Linked DNA regions of Homo sapiens: regions 2 and 3 are each linked to region 1. The links are contacts of gene promoters, found by promoter capture Hi-C in human tissues and cell types (Jung and others, 2019). All regions are on one chromosome and are shown on one strand. Each heading gives the region's core, a stretch centred on a gene start or on the middle of the fragment in contact. The rest is flanking DNA. Distances are from core to core; before and after follow the strand shown. Region 1 holds the start of SF3B5 (splicing factor 3b subunit 5). Region 2 overlaps ZC2HC1B (zinc finger C2HC-type containing 1B). Region 3 has its middle 16 kb from the start of TRL-TAA1-1.

Region 1 (4,200 bases), core at 765-3,264:
AATTAAGTGACATACTGTATAGCAGTAAACAATGAACTAAAGTTACATAACATGTAACATGAATACTGACAAGGGCAAAAAGCAACTTTTATAACAATATAGACGGAGTGTTATTTATATAGAGCTTTAAAACTTGCATAACAAAAACAACTATTGTGCATGGATACACACTTTCAGCAATCAAAAAAACAGGCTCCATAGAAAAATGGCAAAATGTTAAGGTTTGATACATCTCCCACAAGTATGCCTGGCAAAATTCTTTACATTTTAGGAGTGAAACATTTGTTATAACGAAGTTTAAACAGCAGAATAAAATTATTTTCAAGTTATCTCCTTCCCAGTAAAGTTTTCCTTCTCTTCGGTTGTAATAATTTATCCATTTATCAAATTTTTGTTTTGGACTTTTTTTTTTTAAAAAAAGGATCTTTTTTTCAAGTAGCTTCTACCCATGTAAGGAAGTTATTAAACCAAACAGTAGGACATAAAGCAATAATAAGGAAGAGACGTATAACTTGCAAAGAGGAAAGAGAGTTTACATCTGTCTGGAGCAGCCAGAGAAAACTCTAAGGAGATGCATTTGAGCTGCCTTTAAAGGGAGATGCGTTCACCAAGGGAACAGACATTCCACGTAGAGGGAATAGCTTGTACAAGGAAATGGGGATGGACACAACAGGTAACATGGAGAAATACAGTTGTCCCTCAGTATTCGTGAGTGATTTGTTCCAGGACCCCCATGGATACCAAAACTAGAGGATGCTCAAGTCCCTGATATAAAACGGCTTGTATTTGCATATACGCACATCCTCCTGTATAGTTTGTCTCTAGATTATTTAACATACCTAATACAATGTAAATGCTATGTAAATAGTTGTTATACTGTATTGTTTAGGGAATAATAACCTTAAAAAGTCTGCATTTCGGTACAGACTGATATTTTCCCCCAATATTTTCAATCAGGTTGGTTGAATCCACAAAACCCACTGAATGGAAGAGCCAAGTAGGGTGAGGTGAGGCCTTGGAGGGAGGATATCAAAATAAGTGGCTAGAGAGGAAGGAGGAGCTTGAGGTGGAAGCCGGAATGTGTGGGAACTGGTGCTGTACTTGCTCACCAAGCACCCTGGTTAGAGCTGAAATAACTCTTTTATGCCACAAACTCCTAAGAGACATAGTTGGGACCAGAACTGGCGCCTGCTGACTTCTGGGTAATCCATCCCCGGTTGTGAAGGGACGGCCGTGCCGCCACGACGGCTCCGAAATACACCAAGAGTTTATTTTCGGGGCTGCTCGTAGTCCAGTCATTCTTGGGTTTCCCATTTCCTATCAGCCCCAAGCCACCCACGGATGCTCCCCACCTCCAGACATCGCCCTCCACTAGGTCCCCAGATCACTTTTAAAACGCGACCAGGGGCCGGGCGCGGTGGCTCACGCCTGTAATCCCAGCACTTTGGGAGTCCGAGGCGGGCGGATCACGAGGTCAGGGGTTCGAGACCAGTGAAACCCCGTCTTTACTAAAAATACAAAAAAACTAGCCGGGCGTGGTGGTGTGCAACTGTCATCCCAGCTACTCGGGAGGCTGAAGCAGGAGAATCGCGTGAACCCAGGAGGCGGAGGTTGCAGTGAGCCGAGATCGCGCCATTGCATTGCAGCCCGGGCAACAGTGCAAGACTCCGTCTTAAACAAACAAACAAACAAACAACAGAACGCGACCAGGAGTCCCGGAAGCCTGCGTGCACGAACTCCCAAGACCACAAGTCCCAGCATGCAACGCTCCTTGTTGGAAAAGGGCCTCCCTTAGCCACTAAGTGGACCATCATGCAACATTCTCTGATGGGGCGGGGATCTCCATGGAGGGGGGAGGCACACTTGTTGCGTCGCCTCAGCAACTCCAATTGCGTGACAGAATGTGCTTCCGCTTCCGCCTCTGAGCCCTATGAGCGAGAGTTACGCTACTTAGTCGTTGTGACGCCATTCTTCTGCGACGGCGCGGACCTGGAGCTTCCGCGCGGTGGCTTCACTCTCCTGTAAAACGCTAGAGCGGCGAGTTGTTACCTGCGTCCTCTGACCTGAGAGCGAAGGGGAAAGCGGCGAGATGACTGACCGCTACACCATCCATAGCCAGCTGGAGCACCTGCAGTCCAAGTACATCGGCACGGGCCACGCCGACACCACCAAGTGGGAGTGGCTGGTGAACCAACACCGCGACTCGTACTGCTCCTACATGGGCCACTTCGACCTTCTCAACTACTTCGCCATTGCGGAGAATGAGAGCAAAGCGCGAGTCCGCTTCAACTTGATGGAAAAGATGCTTCAGCCTTGTGGACCGCCAGCCGACAAGCCCGAGGAGAACTGAGACTCTGCCTTACCACCGCAGTGCGGGGCACCTCTCCCAGCGTTTCTCCGGTTTGCCAATCCTCTTAAGTATTCCTGTCTCCAAAGGACCGGCTCTCCATGGCTCCTGCGCCTCGTGCTTTCCGCGTACAGAAGTGCTTGCCCGGGGAGTCCCGCCTGACCTGCCTTCATGTGGACCCTTAGAACAGCACTGGGAGACCAGCAGGACTCCTGAGAACTGTGCTGGTGGAGAGGTCCTAGAGCCGGCGAGCGTTTGAGAAGAGGGCATGGCGCTGGAGTGAGATGGGATTTGGCGTCTCGTTTTTGGCTAATTGATTGTCATTGGCTTTTTCCATAAAGTTTAGAAATCGTTCAGTCTCTTGGTGTGAACTTTCTGTGTTAGGGTGGAAGGCTCCGGAAAGAGCTGAGCGGGAAGTGGGTTTGGGTGAGGGAGCGCATGCCAGTGTCCATGGCCAGGCACTTAGATCCGCCGTGTCTACCTTTATAATTAATTCCCCGACTGCCACTTTTCCCAAGAGCGTTATTTTCAGGCCCACAATGCCTTCAGTATTGAAATTTGTGGTTATTGTATCCCATCTTCTTTTTCTCCTGTTTTAAAACTCTTTGCAGTCTTTGCTGTCATTGTCCTCCCTAGCCTCTTTAAAATGCATCCTTTTTTTTTTCTTGGGAATTTGTGGCCATGTCTCCAGAAATGACAAGCTGGCAAGCGAGTTCATCCATTCTACATTCAACAAATATTTGTTGAGCTCTATGTGACAGGCATTTTCCCGTGTTCTTGGGGCTTACATTATGCTGGTGGTGGAGAAAGGAGGTCAAACACTAGATGTAATAAGCAAATGTTAGAAGATGCTGCGGGGAGGGGAGAACAATGTATGTGGTGCGGGTGGGAGTAGCTGGTAGGGCTGTAATCTTAAATATGATGCACAAGTTACTGAGATGGTGACATTTGAGCAAAGACTTCAGGAAAATGAGGGAAATGGCCATGCGGAAAACTGGAGAAATTGCTTTCCATGAAGAGGGAACTGCCAGTGCAATGGTACTAACGCTGGGAGTATGTATGGTTTATTGGAGGAACTTCAAAGAGGCAAGCATGGCTGGAGGGAGTGAGTAAGGGGAAAAGTAGAGGGACAGGTAATGGAGGGGAAAACAGAGTAGAGTCTTGTAGGACAATATATGAACCTCTGAGGAGCCATTGGAAGGTTGTGGTTTTTTTTAATTTTAGTTTTTAAAAACACGAGATGGATCTTGATATGTTGGCCAGGTTGGTCTTGAACTCTTGGCCTCAAGCAGTCCTCCCACTTCAGCTTCCCAAAGTGCTACGATTACAGGTGTGAGCCACCACTGCAGACCATTGGAAGGTTTTTACGCAGAGAAGTCACGTGACCTGGCATAGCTTAGCTCAGTGGTGGCTTTGGAACTCCAGGCTGGAGTGCAGTGGCACGATCATGGCCCACTGCAGCCTCAACTTCCAAGGCTCAAGCAATCCTCCCACCTCAGCCTCCCAAGTAGTTGGTACTACAGGTACGTGCCACCATGCCCGGCTAATTTTTGCATTTCTTAGTTTTTTTGTAGAGATGAGGGTCTCATGTTTCCCGGGCTGCTCTTGAACTCCTGGCTCAAGCAATCCACCCACCTCAGCCTCCCAAAGTGCTGGGATTACAGGGGTGAGTCATTGCTCCTAACTTTTCGTTACACTAGAAAATTGTAGAAGACACCAAAGAGCCTCTGTTTATGTGGATTGTGGCTATTGATATTCACCACCATAGAAATGAAAACAAAAGTTTTAATTCATTGAAAAATAATGAAAATTCTCAGAAAGGTCAATGGTAAAAATAATGATAATAAAACCAT
Region 2 (4,200 bases), core at 976-3,475, 160 kb after region 1:
TACACTAGGACTTTCGACATCCCCTCCGCTATTGCCCCAGCTTTCAAAATGGACCCTGATATTTTGGATCTTCAAATTATTTGCTAGCTCTCACATGAGAAGACTTTGCTAAGCCTTACGGAAGCATAAGCTGCCTTCCCTGCTTAGGGTTATCTACGTGACAATGGATTCATTCCACAAACAGTATTCTTTTCCCTTGAGCCCAGCAGTGTTGTTAGGTATGGAGATACACAAGTTTATGGATATGGGCACACCACACCATGGCTTAGTTTTGACCACATCGTAGGGGACAGGATTCTCAGAGGTTCTTTTTTTTGTTAAAAAATAAAAAAGGAACAAGTCCCCTCTGTCCTAAGAAGCCTCCTTTCTACTCAGTGTTTTATGAAGGAGCAATAACAAGGAAATTGTGAATCAAACTCTCAAAGGACATAGGAATAGAAAGAGCTTTCAGTGTTAGTTTTACTGAAACATAAACTGGTTTTACTTCTGCCAAAGAATCCACAACTGTGATGCTCAACAGGTTTGCTACACAACTAAATTAGGTAAAGAATGGAATGCTAGTGCAGGTAAAATGCTTAACTTGATAAAAATCCACTGGCTCCAGAAGTAAAGTAGAGCCCACACCAGCAAAGCTGTACAAATGCAATCCACTACTAAATATACAAAGCAATGCAGGTCTAGATCCCAGAACTACATGCTCATAGTGACATTAGTCTCTGTACGAAGATCTCAGAGAAGCAGCTTCTTGGCAGTACCTTCCAGTATATCCATCATTCATATAACAAAAGCCTCCAGAAAACAGCCATCAGTACATATTTGCTGACTAGGCTATACACTCATTCCCCATCTGAACATTAGAATCTTTTAGGAATGCGAGAAGAGCCACTTCTTTTTCTAAAATAATTTCCAAATATGTATCAATAGCCTTAATATTTATATTTTTGGACCCATTTTTCCCAAAACGTACAAAGCTCTGCTCCTTCCTATTAAATAGCTTGCCCATGTTGCTTAACCTCTCTGTGCTTTCCTCATCTGTAAAATAGAGATATGAATAGTACATCGACCTCCTCACGCTATTGTGAGAATTAAATGAGTTCATACGCCAGTTGCTTAACTGGCATGGTAACTTCACTTAATACCAGGTGCTCTTTTTGTATTAGAAGTTTTCCTGTGCATGCTATGTCTTCTCATAAGACTCTGGGATCAATAAGGCTGTTGACTTGTACACACATGTGTCTCCTCTGGTATGAATTTTAAAACTGTTATATGTGGGAGGTACAAGATACTAAATGCTTATTTTACTCAAGAGAGTTGAAGGATGAAAGCCCGAGTTTTAGGAGGCTAACTGCTATCTAGATGAAAGACAACAACTAGATTTATAATATATGATACCATAAGTAGATATTACTTAAAAAAGAAGACAGGGGCAGTGGCTCACACCTGTAATGCCAATACTTTGAGAGGCCAAGGCAGGAGGATTGCTTGAGCCTAGGAGTTCAAGACCAGTCTGGGAAACATAATACCTCACCTCTACAAATAAAAAAAATTATCTGGGTATGGTGGTACATGCCTGTCATCCCATATACTCAGGAGGCTGAGGTGAGAGGGTCACTTGTACCCAGGAAGTCAAGGCTGTAGAGAGCTTTGATCAAGCTACTGCACTATAGCCTGGGCGACAGAGAGATCCTGTCTCAAAAAAAAAAAAAAAAAAAAAAAAAAAAGAGTGATACCAAGTGGCCTAAACTACTGATTGTCAATCTGAATATATTAATAGCAATAACAAAAAACCCAACAACAACAATTTTTAAAGACCTTTATTTTTATATAGCATTGTATAATGAAAAGAAAAAAAAAGACCCTTATGAGCTGCCCTGACCCCTGCCACAGAAACCCATGCAAACCCTCACTGGGCCTGAGGACAGGGCCACCCACCCTGCTGGCACCAATGGACACTGACTGGGAGCCTGGAGATTGAGCAGCCCTGACCATCACAGCCTGTGCTTGTGCCCACCATTGGGAAGCTGATGACAGGCTTGACCCATGTGGTGTCATGCCCACCAGTGCTTCTGTGCATTGTTGGGGCCTGGGGATCAACCCACCCTGCCTGTGGTCAGCTCACCCTGCCTGTGGTCAGCTTCTACCCACCCCTACCAGGTGCCTGAGGGTGAGTCTGCTCAGCCTATTGGTACCTGCATACATCATCCATGGACTTGGAGATTGACCCACCACCACCAGCATCTGCAGCGTCCACATACTCCTCCTAGGGGACTAAGGATGGGGCCGCCCAGCTCACTACTGCCACCACTAGTACCCTATGGATACTGCCTAGGAGCCAGAGGGTTGGTCTACCACCATCAATGTTATTGGCAACCCCATGCATGCCACCCAGGAACCTGAAGAGCCACCCACCATCGCCACTGCTGGCACCTGAGCAAGCCATCTGGAGGTCCAAAGATTGGTCTGCCTGGACCTGCTAACACCAGTGCCCACGTATGCTACCTGGGGTCCCAAGGACAGGCAGGCTCAGTCTACTGCTGCCACCACTGAGGCCTGAAGACCAGCTCACCTTGTGTCCCCATCCCCAGCAAAGCCTCACCACAGCTTCCAATAACAACTGCAGTTTAAGTCACTAAGGAATTCATAGACACCACTGATAGTAATTACAGCCAAAAAATCATGGACACGCAATTACTGTATGCTCCAGTATCAAAGCTAAAGTGCCCTACCCAACTATCACTATAGATACATATGTAGGAAGAAGTCTTTCCTATGAAGGCCAATTCAAAAATTGGAAGAAGTGACTGTTACACCAGATGCAGAGATATTGGCATAGGAACACAAGAAACATAAAAATGCAAGAAAATATGACTCCTCCAAAGGAATACAATTCTCCAGCAACAGATTGCAACAAAAAAATTGATGAAATGCCAGAAAAGGAATTCAAAATCATAATATTAAAAAAGCATATTGAAAGAGAGGGAAGATGGCAGATAGGGGACAGGGCTGATAAGTAGCTCCCACTTGGATGGACAGAACAGCGTGTGGACACTCACTCTGTGGTCGTTTGCTCCAGGAACAACTGCAGGAGCATACCAGGAAAAACAAAAGAAATCACAGATCCTTTGAAAGAAGTGGCAGGCTATTGCAAATTCTGCAAGACAGGTGAAAATTCGTAAGTTCCCAAAGTCTGAGAGGGGACACATCTGCTTCCAAGCACACGTCCCCACTGAGGAACCTGAAAAATCCAGATTACGGGAGAAGAATTTAGCCTTACCTAGAGCTGAAATTGATTTGCTGTGAAATGTAAAAGTAGAAGCAGCAGTGGGACAAGCCTTGTAGGCAGTCCCATTCTCCAGCTCAAGCCCAGGGAAGCCATCCCTGACTCTATCTCACAAGAGCCCTCGGGGAAGGCAACTGGCAGAATTTGAGAGGGGTCACAGGGTGAAAGAAGCTTCCAACTGAACTTTGTAATAATTTTGACTGGGTGCAAACCCTCTTGAGAAGAATCTGGGGGCAAACAGGAACTGTTGCAGAAAGCACAGTGGAGATGCGGCTGACAGTGTGGCAGATTGGCAAAGGTGTGGCCTGAAAGCAGTGCTTGCTTCCTCAGTGGGGAAACTTAGAGCCTGGGACTAGATCTGAGTCCCAGGCTGCAGGCTGCCTAGAGATAAACTTGGCACGGTTAGCAGGGCACGGTGGGAGTGAGACTGGCCTTGCCAACTGTGTGGGAGCTGGGTGAGGCCTGTTGCTACCAGCTTTCGCCCACTTCCCTGGTGACAGAGGCAGCCATAATTCCCTCTGGAACATAACTCCATTGGCCCAAGAACCATCCCCTGATCTCCCCACAGTGGCCACAGCAACCCCCACCCAAGGAGAGTCTGAGCTCAAACCTACCTAATCCTGCCTGCACCTGATAGTATTTCTCTACCCGGTCCAATAGTGAATCACAAAAGACATAAACTCTTGGGAGCTTTATGATCCCATCCATCACCTGAGAAGCCTGAATACTTGTCCTGGCCAAATTAGAGCAAGCTTATATCCCCCTCTACTATTGCAGCTGGCTGGCGCACTCTCAAAAGCACCACCTCCTGGCTCAAGGTTAACCAACTCAGAACATTATAGCAACTCATAACAGAACAACCCTGCTCTAATGAAGGAAAAAACAGCAGCTAATTCCACTGCCTGAAACATCCTGGCTAA
Region 3 (4,200 bases), core at 659-3,158, 140 kb before region 1:
CTTGCTGGATCCTTAAACAGTAGAAAGGGCAACGGAGCTCTCCGGGACCTCTTTTATAAAGGTATTAATCCCATTTATGAGGACTACACCCTCATGACCTAATCACATCCCAAAGGCCTCATCTCCAAATATCACATTGGGTATTAGGATTTAACATATGAATTAGGGTGGGTACACAAACATTCAGTCTGTAGCACATACCCTATAAGCTGTGCTGCTGACTCTCCTTCATCCTCTTTGTATGAACTCCTAAGATCTGTGTGCTCCTTCAAATTAAATTGGAATTGTTAGTTTAGTTAATAGAGCTCACAACATGCCACTTGGCTGGGGCCAGACATCTTATGATCCAAGTTAAGTCTAGGGCCTCTGTGTTGCACAACTCCAGGGGGCTCTATTCATATTATACTCTGTGTAAATGGCGCCCCTGGATTTATGCAGTGTACACACTACACCATGTAATGGGGCAAAGTCTTGTTCAGTCACCACCCATCAAGTTTACACCAAGCAAATTTGCCAAATGACCAACTTATCAGGTTTATCAATTTTACTTACATATTTATTAGCCCTATCAGGAATATTTTCATAGTTCTATCAGCTTTAGATTTTAAGTTTAAGACCATCTAAAAGTAAATCAGAATTTAGCTAAAATGATCTTCTATATTAAGAAGAAAATATGGACTAAAGGATTCCCATAGGAGATGCTGAAATTTTGAAAAGTTGAACATCTTGTGAAAGCCCATAGTGAATTTAACATTCTTATTAAATTCACTATTAGCAAATTTTGTAAATTCATGTAAATCTGATATGTCAGATTATTCTATAAGTTAGCTTTCAGAAAACTGGCTTTCAGTGAGTGGGAATTCTTGAAATTGTTTTCTCAGCTTCTTCTTGTGAGAAAGAAGGATTTTTTTTAATTATCTAAAACAATTGCTTATGTGAGAATGAGTTATACCCTAGTATTTTCCACCAAGATTTCCTTGTATAGAATGCAATTTGGAGATTTCATTTTGAAAACATTTAAAATAGAAAGGGCAGGAATAAAGTGGATTAAAATATGAACCACTTGTGAGAACCAAGGCTTTTTCCCCAGGGCCTGGGAGGTGCTCCCCGGCAATGAAACAATAAACTTTTGCAGCAGAAAAAAAATTTAGCAAAACTTGGCAACTATGGTGGAGTAAGAGGTTGTACTCAACATTAAGGTCCCAATGCGATACATTTCCTAAGCATAAACAGTGATTGCCTTTATCCTTACAAAGTCAATTCAAGGTACTTATGTGGGGCATTTTTTGTTCATCTACCTGAGGAAAAAAAAAAATTAGAAAGCTCTTTCTACCTCATACTAGAATAGGAAATAATTTTTAGCAATCTTCCTTTTCTTTTTCCCCCCTTTTTTCAAGGAAAGAGGATTCAAATTTGTGGCTATGATTGTATTTTAAGCTACCTAAGAAAATTGCTCGTGAGAAAACAGTTGCCTTCTAAAAATAAACCAAAGCAACCTAATACAAACATCTCTAGCCCTGGCTTTGAAAGTTCTGTCTGAATTCCAAGCCTCTAGTTTTCAGTTTGTTTCTGAGTTTGTTGATGAACTAGCCAAGCCTAAGGATTGACATTGCAGGACTCCATAAAAATCCTTACAAATATACAGGTATGGTTGGTTGCTTTTGAAAAATAAAATTTCCCAGCTCATTCCACAATCTCAATGATCTCATACTGCTAGAGGATCTGGAAATACAGAGCCAAAGTTAAGGGTTCCAGCAGTCGGTTTCCAAAGCGTCATTGGAGTGGGCTAAAGGTGCACATTAGTTAGGCTTTTACACCTCCTGTTCCTTTTCAAGAGCGTGATTAATTACAGTGATTTATCTGTGAAAAGTGCAGCTTGGAGTTGGATGTGGGGAAGCCACAAAATGGTGTCAATGCTTCAGCCTGGAGTAAATGGTGAAATATATTTAGCAAGCAATAATGCCAGGCACTGAGAAACAGAAATAAATAGAAGAAACTGTCTTTACATGAATAGAGAACTTTACACAATACCATGTATTCACAAAAAGGAAATAATTATAGAAAATACAAACAGAGGGAAAAAAAAACAGAAAGTCTTCCAAGTTCCAAATTTCCATTCTGATTCTAGCTCCAAAACGGCAGGTCAGTTTCTCAGGAACTTTATTCCTTCCCATTTTCCAGCCTCTCTTCATGTGTCAGTGACAAATTCTAGATAAAATGAAAAAGTGGCTTAGATGATAATACCTTCCCGGGTCAAGGCCAATGTGAAGATTCAAGCCAGGGTTAAGATTGGAGTTAGTGATTCCCTTCCTTTTCCCAGATGCGCCTAAAGAAGGACTTTGGCAGGACTGTGGAGCCTGACATAAAGAAGGTTTTCCCTTCCAAAAAATGCTGCTTTCCTAGTTTTGCTTTTCTCTAACATAGATTGGGCTTGCACACAAGTATTAATTTACTTCAAAGGACTTGGAAAGTCTAATCAAACAACTGACTTTACAACTGACTTTGCCAAGGAATGCAAACAAAAGCCAGCCAAATTAGTTTGTGTGCAGAGATATATCCAAGGATATATCTAATATCACTTAAATGTGAGCTTTCTTGGCCTGGCAAGGTGGCTTACGCCTGTAATCCCAGCATTTTGGGAGGCAGAGGTGGGCAGATCACTTGAGATTAGGAGTTCAAGACCAGCCTGGTCAACATGGTGAAACCCTGTCTCTACTAAAAATACAAAAATTAGCCGGGCATGGTGGCACATGCCTGTAATACCAACTACTTGGGAGGCTGAGGCACGAGAATCGCCTGAACCTGGGAGGTGGAGATTGCAGTAAGCTGAGATCACGATGCCACTGCACTCCAGCCTGAGCGACAGAGTGAGACTCCATCTCAAAAATAAATGCACTTTCTGTAGTACTCTCAGAGACCCTCTTCTCACCATCCTCTCTTCTTGCATAATTGTATTCAGGCCTTTGCTTCCTTTGCCACCTATATATTGATGACTCCCATCTTATTACTCTCTCGAGTTTTAATCTCATACATTTGAGGATCTTTGGAGAAGCAGAGAATGAGGGATCCAGAGCCTTCAGTTTTAGAAACTCTTTTGCTCCTTCAATGTTCTAAAGAAACTTAAAAATAAATATACATACAAGCTGTTGTCTGCTCTGCTTGGCACCATAATGTTCATATTATTGGCTGTATTTTCAATTAGATACATTTTCTTCTAAGCTGATTGATATGGTTTGGGTCTGTGTCCCCACCCAAATCTCATGTCTAGTTGTAATCCCCAATGTTGGTGGTTGGGCCTCGTGGGAGGTGATTGGATCATGGGGGCGGGCGTCCGTTTTGGTGCTGTTCTCATGATAATAAGTGTGTTGTCACATGATCTGGTTGTTTAAAAGTGTGTAGCACCTCCCCACTCTCTCTTCTCTCCTGCTCCAGCCATGTCAGATGTGCCTGCTTCCCTTGGCTTTCCACTACGATTGAAAGTTTCCCGAGGCCTCCCCTGCCATGCTTCCTATACAGCCTGTGGAACCATAAGCCAACGAAACCTCTTCTCTTTATAAATTACCCAGTCTCGGGTAGTTCTTCATAGCAGTGCAAAAACAGACTAATAATTGATATTCAGATAGACAGGTTGGGAATCTGACAATTTCCTTAAACTGCAGGCCAGCATTTCAGAGCAGAATTGACAGGATGTGTAATAAAAAGAAAACGCTAAAGCACTGGTATGCAGTGGATGGTTAGTGACTTCTTTCTTATATTTTTAATACTAATACTAATATTTATATTGATTTGTATTAATATCAGGTTGGATTAACATTGGCTGCAGGTGAAAGAAGCCTTCACCAAATAACAGTTTATTTCTGCCTTCATGGATGCCTGAAGGTTGGTAATCCAGGGTTGGGATGGTTGTTTTGCTTTAAGAAGGCCTCAGGAAGAAGCTCTTTCTAGCTCTCTTGTCTTCCAACCCCAGGCTGTGGCCTCCGTCCTCATGGTGCAATGTGATGGTTGAAGCATCAGCCATCATATCCATGTTCCCAGGAACAGGAAATGGGCACACACATGGTGTCTTGAGGATGTTTTCCTGGAAGTTGTCCAATAACACTTCTACTTATAAGTCACTGGCCAGAACTTATTGCCATTGCTGTTCGCAGCAGAGAGAAAAGCTGGACAATGCAGCTTTATTCCAGGCAGCTTTGTGTCCAG

The links. Contacts are between HindIII fragments. The study calls those that stand out against the background at their distance.
Region 2: a contact is called between a fragment that was not itself captured here and the fragment with the promoter of SF3B5 in region 1, in 1 of the 25 tissues and cell types used here (thymus).
Region 3: a contact is called between a fragment that was not itself captured here and the fragment with the promoter of SF3B5 in region 1, in 2 of the 25 tissues and cell types used here (mesendoderm cells and spleen).

What each region holds. Positions count from the first base shown.
Region 1 is chr6:144,093,387-144,097,586 of GRCh38, reverse strand. It overlaps SF3B5 (splicing factor 3b subunit 5), which reads left to right and starts at 2,014. Exons shown (of 1, transcript NM_031287.3): 1 at 2,014-2,703. The coding sequence starts at 2,090. The coding sequence ends at 2,350. RefSeq lists an enhancer at 1,565-2,264. The HindIII fragment of the contact is 26,090 bases long and covers 1-4,200 here.
Region 2 is chr6:143,933,168-143,937,367 of GRCh38, reverse strand. All of the region lies in intron 6 of ZC2HC1B (zinc finger C2HC-type containing 1B), which reads right to left. Among named protein-coding and RNA genes, the nearest start is that of ZC2HC1B, 71 kb to the right of the region's middle. The HindIII fragment of the contact is 3,034 bases long and covers 709-3,742 here.
Region 3 is chr6:144,229,948-144,234,147 of GRCh38, reverse strand. No RefSeq gene overlaps it. Among named protein-coding and RNA genes, the nearest start is that of TRL-TAA1-1, 16 kb to the right of the region's middle. The HindIII fragment of the contact is 8,996 bases long and covers 1-4,200 here.